Regions from separate parts of the Homo sapiens genome. Here region 1 is linked to region 2. The links are contacts of gene promoters, found by promoter capture Hi-C in blood cells and fetal thymus (Javierre and others, 2016). All regions are on one chromosome and are shown on one strand. Each heading gives the region's core, a stretch centred on a gene start or on the middle of the fragment in contact. The rest is flanking DNA. Distances are from core to core; before and after follow the strand shown.

What was found. Contacts are between HindIII fragments. The CHiCAGO score rates a contact against its expected background, and 5 or more counts as called.
Region 1: a contact is called between the fragment with the promoter of ST3GAL3-AS1 here and the fragment with the promoter of CCDC24 in region 2, in 3 of 17 cell types (endothelial precursors, megakaryocytes and activated CD4 T cells). The highest score is 7.0, in endothelial precursors.

Annotation. Positions count from the first base shown.
Region 1 is chr1:43,725,558-43,729,976 of GRCh38, forward strand. ST3GAL3-AS1 (ST3GAL3 antisense RNA 1) reads right to left here and starts at 1,786. Exons shown (of 4, transcript NR_125986.1): 1 at 1,676-1,786. The region is part of intron 1 of ST3GAL3 (ST3 beta-galactoside alpha-2,3-sialyltransferase 3); the gene reads left to right. The HindIII fragment of the contact is 15,149 bases long and covers 1-4,419 here.
Region 2 is chr1:43,989,396-43,994,153 of GRCh38, forward strand. CCDC24 (coiled-coil domain containing 24) reads left to right here and starts at 2,204. Exons shown (of 9, transcript NM_152499.4): 1 at 2,204-2,351; 2 at 2,452-2,609; 3 at 2,817-2,992; 4 at 3,128-3,244; 5 at 4,492-4,569. The coding sequence starts at 2,484. B4GALT2 (beta-1,4-galactosyltransferase 2) reads left to right here. Exons shown (of 7, transcript NM_003780.5): 7 at 903-1,773. The coding sequence ends at 1,053. RefSeq lists silencers at 2,358-2,467, 2,608-2,657. The HindIII fragment of the contact is 1,600 bases long and covers 1,540-3,139 here.

The sequences.
Region 1 (4,419 bases), core at 536-3,035, 260 kb before region 2:
GTCTTAAATCTACTTCTAGCATTTTTATTTTTTATTTATCTTTTTCTGTCTCTCATGGTTGAGTGCCTGATACTCTTATTAAATTTAATTAATTAATTAATTTTTTTGAGACAGTGTCCCACTCTGTCACCCAGGCTGGAGTGTACTGGCATGGTCTCAGTTCACCGCAGCCTCCACTTCCCAGTCTTAAGTGATCCTCCCACCTCAGCCTCCTGAGTTGCTGGGACTACAGGCACGCACCACCGTGCCTAGCTAATTTTTGTATTTTTTGTAGAGACGGTTTCGCTATGTTGCCCAGGCTAATCTCGAACTCTTAGGGTCAAGTGATGTGCCTGCCTTAGCTTCCCAAAGTGCTGGGATTACAGGCGTGAGCCATCGCACCCAGCCTCACGTTTTATTTTTCTCATTTAGTACGATACCAAAAGCATTTCTCTATACCATTAAAAAATTTTTTTAAGTTTATGCAGCCATTTAAAGTGGCTGCATAAACTCTCATTTAGATGTTTATTTGAACATTTAGTTTAAAATTCCTTTCCCTTTTTAACTTTTCATTTTGAAATAACTTCTTATTTACAAAAGAGTTGTAGAAATATTACAAAGAACTCCCATATGTCCCCTTCAGCTAGCTTATTGTGATGTCTGTCAGATTTCTCAACTTCAAAGTTACTCTGTTCCCCTCTGTTAATAATTAGTGAGGAAATAGTTTAAAACTATTTTATATCTTATTTTTTATTTATTTATTTATAAGAGATAGGGTCTTGCTCTGTCACTCAGGCTGGAGTGCGGTGGCATGATCTTAGCTCATTGCAGCCTCTAACTCCTGGGCTCAAGTAATCCTCCCTCCTCAGCCTCCCAAGTAGCTGGGACTACAGGCACATGCCACTATGCCCAGCTAATCTTAAAATTTTTTCTAGAGGTGGAATTTTGCTGTGTTGCCCAGGCTGGTCTTGAACTCTTGGCCTCATGTGATCCTCCTACCTTGGCCTCCCAAAGTGCTAGTATTACAGGCATGGGCTACTGTGCCTGGCCTATATCCCATTTCTTTTTCTTTTCTTGAGATAGAGTCTTGTTTTCTTGTTCAGGCTGGAGTGCAGTGGCACGATCTTGGCTCACTGCAGCCTCCGCCTGCCGAGTTCAAGCAATTCTTCTGCCTCAGCCACACAAGTAGCTGAGATTACAGGTGGGTGCCACCATGCCTGGCTAATTTTTGTATTTTTAGTAATATGGGGTTTCCCCATGTTGGCCAGGCTGGTCTCGAACTCCTGACCTCAAATGATCCGCCTGCCTCGGCCTCCCAAAGTGCTGGGATTACAGGTGTAAGCCATTGTTTCTGGCCCTGTATCCCATTTCTTGTAAAACTTGTATGCATTAATTTTAGCATCCATTGATGTTTCTTGGGTGAATTATTACTATAATGGTTCCTAAATGGTGATTTTCTAATTACATTATTCCTTCTATTTTCATCAGCTGTCGTTTCACTCTGAGAGCTTTCTCCCCCTTTATTAGATTCTTATTTAATGGATTATAATCTGTTATTATCAGTCTTTATCTTGATGCTGAATTGCTCCAGATCTGACCAGTGGGAGCTCCTCAGGCTGATTCCTTTTTCCTTTTGACCTGTCCTCACTCTGAGCATTTTCCCATTTTCAGGCACAACAAGGTGGCCCAGACTTACCTTACGCCTTCTCTGCCCCAGCCTTGGAGTCAGCCATTCTTCCAAGGAGACCTGCTTCCTTTTTTTTTTTTAAGCAATTGTTTATTACACTCCTGCTATATGCTATAAGATGATGAGCAAAACCAGACACAATTTCAGCCCTGGAAGGAGAAAAGGGAGGTCGATATTAATCAAGTAATAACATTAATGGGGGCATTTCTCAAGTGAGAGAAGTGCACTAAGGAAAGAAATGTGATTCTATGGTAGGGTAATAAAAGATCCTTGACTGGGGAGGGGCAGCATACCAGTAATTAACTGATCTGAAGAATCAGTAGAAATTAACTTGGTAAAAAGTGAAAGTGGATGGCTGAGTGGGACCAGCATTCAGAAGGCAGGTGCCTGCAGAGAAAGCCATCAGTTTTAACAAGAAATGCTGTATCAGAGATGAAACTAAACCTATTCCTCATCTTTTCTTCTTGCTTCAAACATAACTTTGAAAAATCATTTATGCTGTCTTTAGCCTCATCCCTTCCCCAAACTTCACATTGTTCTGGGTTTTAGGTGTCTCAAAAATTTTTTTTTTCTCCCGGAAGACCCATGACTCCTCTTGAATATTAAGTGCCTTTTTCTATCTGTGTCCTAAACCTTTTTTAAAAAAATAATTTCAACTTTTATTTTCAATTCAGTGATACATGTTCAGGTTTGTTACATGGGTATTGTGTGATGCTGAGATTTGGAGTATGATTGATCCTGTCACCCATGTACTCAGCATAGTACCCAACAGTTCATTTTTCAACCCTTGCGCCTTCACCCCTCATCCCCATCTAGTAGTCTCCAGTGTCTGTTATTGCCATCTGTGTGTCCGTAAGTACCCAATGTTTAGCTGCCACTTACAAGTAAGAACATGTGGTATTTGGTTTTCTGTTCCTGCGTTAATTTGCTTAGGATGATGGCCTCCAGCAGCAACCATGTTGCTGCAAAGACCTGAATTCATTCTTTTTTTATGGCTGCACCCTGCTTCTTGTTAGTGGAGAATAGTATTTCAAAACCAAGATCTACGGAGGTTATCGTGAGCTGAAATCGCACCATTGCACTCCAGCCTGGGCAACAAGAGCGAAACTCCTTCTCAGAAAACAAAAACAAAAACAAAAACACCATCAAAATCTAGGTACTAGATATGCTTCATGCTGTTGAGATATGACCACTGCCAGGGTCTTTCTGTGGGCAGAGCTAAAGAGTTATATGTTGGGGGGGTGGGCACAGTGGCGCACGCCTGTAATCCCAGCACTTTGGGAGGCCAAGGCAGGAGGATCATTTGAGTCTAGGAGTTTGATACCAACCTGGGCCACATAGCAAGACCCTGTTGCCACAAAAAGTTAAAAAAATTTTAGTAGCTGGGCGTGGTGACACGTGCCTATGGTCCTACCTACTTGGGAAGCTGAGATGGGAGGATCACTTGAGCCCAGGAGGTCGAGGTTGCAGTGAGGTATGATCACGCCACTGCACTCTGGTCTGAATGACAGAAACTGTTTAAAAAAAATTATATGTGTGTATACACACAAATGTACACACACTATCCTCACTATATTTATTTTTATGTCTTTGTATATATAACACACATATATACACATATGTATACACACATATGTACATATACACACACACACATATATATTTCTGTATTATTGTTCGTTTTGAGACAGAGTCTCTCTTTGTCGCCCAGGCTGGAGTGCAGTTGCATGTTCTCAGCTCACTGCAGCCTTCACTGCCTAGGCTCAAGTGCTCCTCCCACTGCAGACTCCTGAGTAACTGGGACTACAGGCACATGCCACCAGGCCTAGCTAATTTTTAAATTTTTTGTAGAGACAATTATTTTTCTTTTTTTTTTTTTTTTTTGAGACAGATTCTCACTCTGTCACCCAGGCTGGAGTGCAGTGCCATGATCTGGGCTCACTGCAACCTCTGCCTCCCCAGTTCAAGTGATTCTCCTGCCTCAGCCTCCCAAGTAGCTGGGATTACAGGTGTCCACTACCACGCCCAGCTATCGAGACAATTTTTTGTAAAGACTATATTGCCCAGGCTGGTCTCAAACTCTTGGGCTCAAGTGATCCTTATTCCTTGGCCTCCCAAAGTACGGGGATTACAGGTGTGAGCCACCATGCCTGGTTATATATTAAAAACCATTTTTTTCCCACTGAATACCTCCAATTTCAATACAAGTCAAAATATTAATTCCAGTTTTCCCTTTCCATATTTGTAACTTTCTTCTCCATCATTGGGAAATCTTGTTCCCATTAGCTTCAATACATTTACTTATCTGGTCAATCCCAAATCACCTGTTGCCACAACCTAGACCCCTCACATGGACTAATGTCCCTCTCTCCCCTTTCACCCCAGGCATGTGTGACTCTCCCTAAAGCCTACTGGTTTTTAGATTATTTAGAAAGGAAGGGATAGAGGGACCTCATTTTGTTTATGGATGCATAGTACCTATTTTGTGTATGTACCATAGTTGATTCAACCCTTGTTGAAGGACATTTGGAGTACATTGAATCTTACTCTGTTACGTTACAAATAGTGCTACAATAAGTGGCCATTCACATAAGACTTTTTGTATTTTTGTCAGTGTATCTTTGGGATAGTTTCTTAGAAGTGAGACTATTGGGTTAAAGGGTTAAAAGCATGTGTAATTTTGTTAGATATTTTCAAATCCCTTCCACCACCAGTAATGTATGAAAGCCTGTTTTTACCCCACAGCCTCACTT
Region 2 (4,758 bases), core at 954-3,453:
AACCTGCAGGCTGGCCATCCCACTGGCTAGGAAGCAGAGCCTCCAGCCAAAGCCTTAACAGGCACTTTGAGGGAGGGAGGAGTGAGATAGGAATTTTAGTTGAATGGATTGGTCAACAGGTTACTGGAGGAGCTATGAATATTTACGGAGGGGGTCCTGACATATGCATATCGAACAAACATGCATGTTATATACCATCCATGTTCACCTTGGGGTGGAGACTTAATATTTAAATATATCGCAGTTAGGCCCCATACGTCAAAAAGACAAAAGCACTCAAGTGCGCAGCCTCTGTAAGCTGGCTAGAACCAGTCCATGGCCGATGGTCTTATCAGGAGAAAGTTACTGAGATCAGTCTCTTGTCCCACCAAAGCTATAATTATGGCTTGTGGAACAGGGGCGTAGGGGTCAGCATCTGGCAGTGGGTGAGCTGCAAATTTTTTTCTATTATTTATATTACCACATTATACAAATTGTTTTAATATTGGTTATCTCAAGTCCTGTACTTGTTTAGCTGCTACAGAAAAAGAAAATCCTCGCGGCAGTTAGAGCATAGTCTCTTCTTTAAGTGCAGAGGTGCAAGACTTAACCCTTGCCTGGCATGGCCTTAGATCCTATTTATAATTAGGTATCTTATTGACACAAACAATGCATTCTGTCAGTCTTGTGATCTCTGCTTTGACGTTAATGCTGGTCATTTGTTGTGTCTAAGCTGCAAAAGGGCGTGGGCATAACATGGCATGTTTGACGTCCCTTCCCATCATAGCTGGAAACCCTGTTTTTAAGGTTCCCTGGGGTCCCCTTGGCCAAAAGGGGGTCCATTTAGTTGGTTGGGGGGTGTAGGATTTTATTTTTAGTTTACAGTTGTTAGCCCTGATGTGGACCATTTCCATCCTATCTAGGTTTACCAAGATTCAAAACACGAAGCTGACCATGAAGCGGGACGGCATTGGGTCAGTGCGGTACCAGGTCTTGGAGGTGTCTCGGCAACCACTCTTCACCAATATCACAGTGGACATTGGGCGGCCTCCGTCGTGGCCCCCTCGGGGCTGACACTAATGGACAGAGGCTCTCGGTGCCGAAGATTGCCTGCCAGAGGACTGACCACAGCCTGGCTGGCAGCTGCTCTGTGGAGGACCTCCAGGACTGAGACTGGGCTCTGTTTTCCAAGGGTCTTCACTAGGCCCCCTAGCTACACCTGGAAGTTTCAGAACCCACTTTGGGGGGCCTCCTGCCTGGGCAGGCTCTTCAAGTGTGGCCCTCTTTGGAGTCAACCCTCCTTCCCGACCCCCTCCCCCTAGCCCAGCCCCAGTCACTGTCAGGGTCGGGCCAGCCCCTGCACTGCCTCGCAGAGTGGCCTGGGCTAGGTCACTCCACCTCTCTGTGCCTCAGTTTCCCCCCCTTGAGTCCCCTAGGGCCTGGAAGGGTGGGAGGTATGTCTAGGGGGCAGTGTCTCTTCCAGGGGGAATTCTCAGCTCTTGGGAACCCCCTTGCTCCCAGGGGAGGGGAAACCTTTTTCATTCAACATTGTAGGGGGCAAGCTTTGGTGCGCCCCCTGCTGAGGAGCAGCCCCAGGAGGGGACCAGAGGGGATGCTGTGTCGCTGCCTGGGATCTTGGGGTTGGCCTTTGCATGGGAGGCAGGTGGGGCTTGGATCAGTAAGTCTGGTTCCCGCCTCCCTGTCTGAGAGAGGAGGCAGGAGCCCCAGGGCCGGCTTGTGTTTGTACATTGCACAGAAACTTGTGTGGGTGCTTTAGTAAAAAACGTGAATGGAGCAGCTCCCTTGTCTGTTTGGGGGTGGGGGTCGGGTCCCTGAACGTGGTTACCCTGAGTGTGTTGTGGTGGAAGGGCACTTGGGGAACCTGGCCCAACAAGTAAACCTGACCCGGGCCATCCTGGTTCTCCAAGCGCTGCCACTCCCTAGGCTTTCACTGGCCTTAAGGGGAAGTTTGTCCTTGCACTGCTTCCGGGACAGTGGAGGCGACGAAGTAATAAACCCGTGGACCCAGATTTCTCAGGTCTTAACACGTTCCCTGAGGCCTAAAGGTGCCCAGGGCCGAGCCCAAAGTGCTTGGGTCAGGGCTCGGTGGAGCGCCGAGGTGAGTCTGAACTCCCAGCCGGCACGCGCCGCCCGCCGGACCAAACACGGGAGGGGGCGGGGCCCTAGAGTCGCGGCGTGGTTTCCCGGGTGATGGCCACGCGGAAGAGGTGGGGCTAGGGCCCTGGTTCCCACTGCCTGGTTTCTGGGCCCCCGGCATCCGAGTCGGCCAAAAGCCGGGCAGAAGAGAGCGCCAAGGACTGGCAGTTCCGGAACGGGCAATCCCAGCCGAGGGGACCAGCGGCAGAGCACGGGTGGGGCTTGGGAGAGGGCGGGGCCCATAGAGGGGCGGGGTTTGGTGAGCGTTGCCGGCGGGCCCGCGGTACCTCCCGCACTCTGACCTGCGGCCCGTAGGTCCGAGCCGGGGACGGCGGCGTCGGTGGGTCATGCTCCGGCACTCCCCCTCGCTGTGGGAGCTGGTGGAGGAGCACGTTCCGCTCCGGGAGCGACGCGAAGTGAAGAGGATTCTGGGGGAGGCGGCGGTGGACCTGAGCCTGGAGCTGCGGGCGGAGGTGGGGAGAGGGAAGGTGGGCCACGCCCCTGGCCTGCCCCACGACTCGGGTGATTTCCCACCTCTGCGGGTCCCTGGCCCTGCCGGGTAACTCCCGAGATCCTATCCTGGTCTCCCCTTTGACTCCGCCCTCTCCCTCACTCCCCCAGCCCCCACCATTCCGGACACTCCCCTCCCCAGTCGCAAGGTATCCCAGCTCTCCTTGCAGGTGGCGATGTTACGGGCACTGCTCCAAGAGGCTCGATCCTCTCAAGCCCCCAGCTCCCGCCCCATCTCTGACCCCTCTTCTCTTCTGGCACCACCGCCTCTCCTAAAGGACCTCTTGCGCCAGGAGCTCCGGCAGTTGCTCCAGGGTCTCCGCCACAAAGCCATCTGTGAGGGCAGGTGGGAGCCTCAGGCCTGGGCCCTTTCCCTAGATACCAGGTGGGCTAGCGCTGCCCCTAACAAGGAGCCAGGGTTGCCTTTTCTGTGGTTTCCAGAAAGGAGCCTCTCAGCTTCCTTCCTGTGCACCTTCTGCAGGGACCAGGCCCAAGCTTGGGTCCAGTATAGCCCCAGGGTCCTGCACTTTGCCTTGGAGGAGCCCAGGTGTGATTTGCCAGAACAGGAGATATTCCAGATGAGAGGTGGTGGGCCCAGGTAAGGTGATGGTAGGAGAGAGGGATCTGTCCCTGCTTGGCAGAGGGCCCTAGCCCACTGGTGGGTTGCACCTGGCTCCATGCAGGAGATTCCAGTCACGGGCTGGGCACTTCCACCGCCACTTGTGATAGAGATTATCAGCCCATGAGGGCTACTGAAACCCAGAGGAAACACCTGCCTAGCCTGGGGACAGGCAAAGCTTCCTGGAGAAAGTGGTTTGATCTGCGTGTTGTAGTATGAGGAGCAGTTTTCAGGGAGATGAAAGAGAAGAGCTTTGTAGGAAGAGGGAAGAAAGGAAGCCATGTCCAGCAGGCGGTTGTTCCTCTGGCCTAGAGAACAGGAGTGAGGGCTGGGCTAGGGAGGCAGGGAGAGCTGAAGAGGATGGTCACAAATGGTATTTACAGCTGGGACTGAATGAGATAAAATATTCATAAGTGGATGGCAGCAACTTCTTATTCTAATCCTCACACAGCCTGAGGAGGTGGGCAAAATCTCCATTTTGCACAAGAGGAAATTAAAGGCCGGGCATAGTGGCTCATGCCTGTAATCCCAGCACTTTGGGAGGCTGAGGCGGGAGGATGGCTTGAGGCCAGGAGTTTGAGATCAGCCTGGGCAATACAGGGAGACCCCATCTTTACAAAAAGTGAAAAAAAAAATAGTCAGGTGAGGTGGCGCATGCCTGTATTCCCAGCTACTTGGGAGGCTGAGGTGGGATAATTGCTTGAGCTCAGGAATTCGGGGCTGCAGTGAGCTATGATTGCACCTGTGCACTCCAACCTGGGTGACAAAGACCCTGTCTCTAAGAAAAAAAAAAAAGAAGCCTGGGCAACATAGTGAGACCCCATCTGTGCAAAAAAATTGAACAGGCGTGGTGGCACGCACCTGTAGTCCCAGCTACTCAGGAGGCTGATGTGGGAAGAGCACTTGAGCCCGGGATGTCAAGGCTGCAGTGAGCCAAGATGGTGCTACTGCACTCCAGCCTGGGCAACAGAGCACAATCTTGTCTCAAAAAAAAAAAAAAAAAAGGAAAAGAAACTAAAGCTCAGAAGCGATAAGTGATTTGCCTGAAGTCACACACAATGAAGGGTGGCAGAGCTCATTTGCAAACCTAGGCTCCCAAACTCTTACTCTTTGCACTATATTATATTGCCTTTGTGAGAAAAGAAACAGTTGCCTAGAAGTGATATTTGGGTCCTGAAGGCCTGGGGTGAGCAACATGCGGAGAGTGATAGTGACTTCATTGCCAGCAGCGGTCACAGAGATCTCAGCATCATCAAGGACCAACTGAACGTGTCCAACATTGACCAGGTGGCCAGACACCTGAGGTGAGGCCCAGGGGCACCTGCATGTGTATAGGCAGGGGTGGAGACAAGGATGGATCTTGAGGTGCTGGGATTGTGAGACAGGAGGTGGGTAGTATACTTGGCGGGGAGGCCCATGTGCGTAAGGCTGAGAGGTGGAAAGAGCTGGCTGCTATAGAGCTAGTGAGGTTGCTTTCAGGAAGCAGCCAAGTA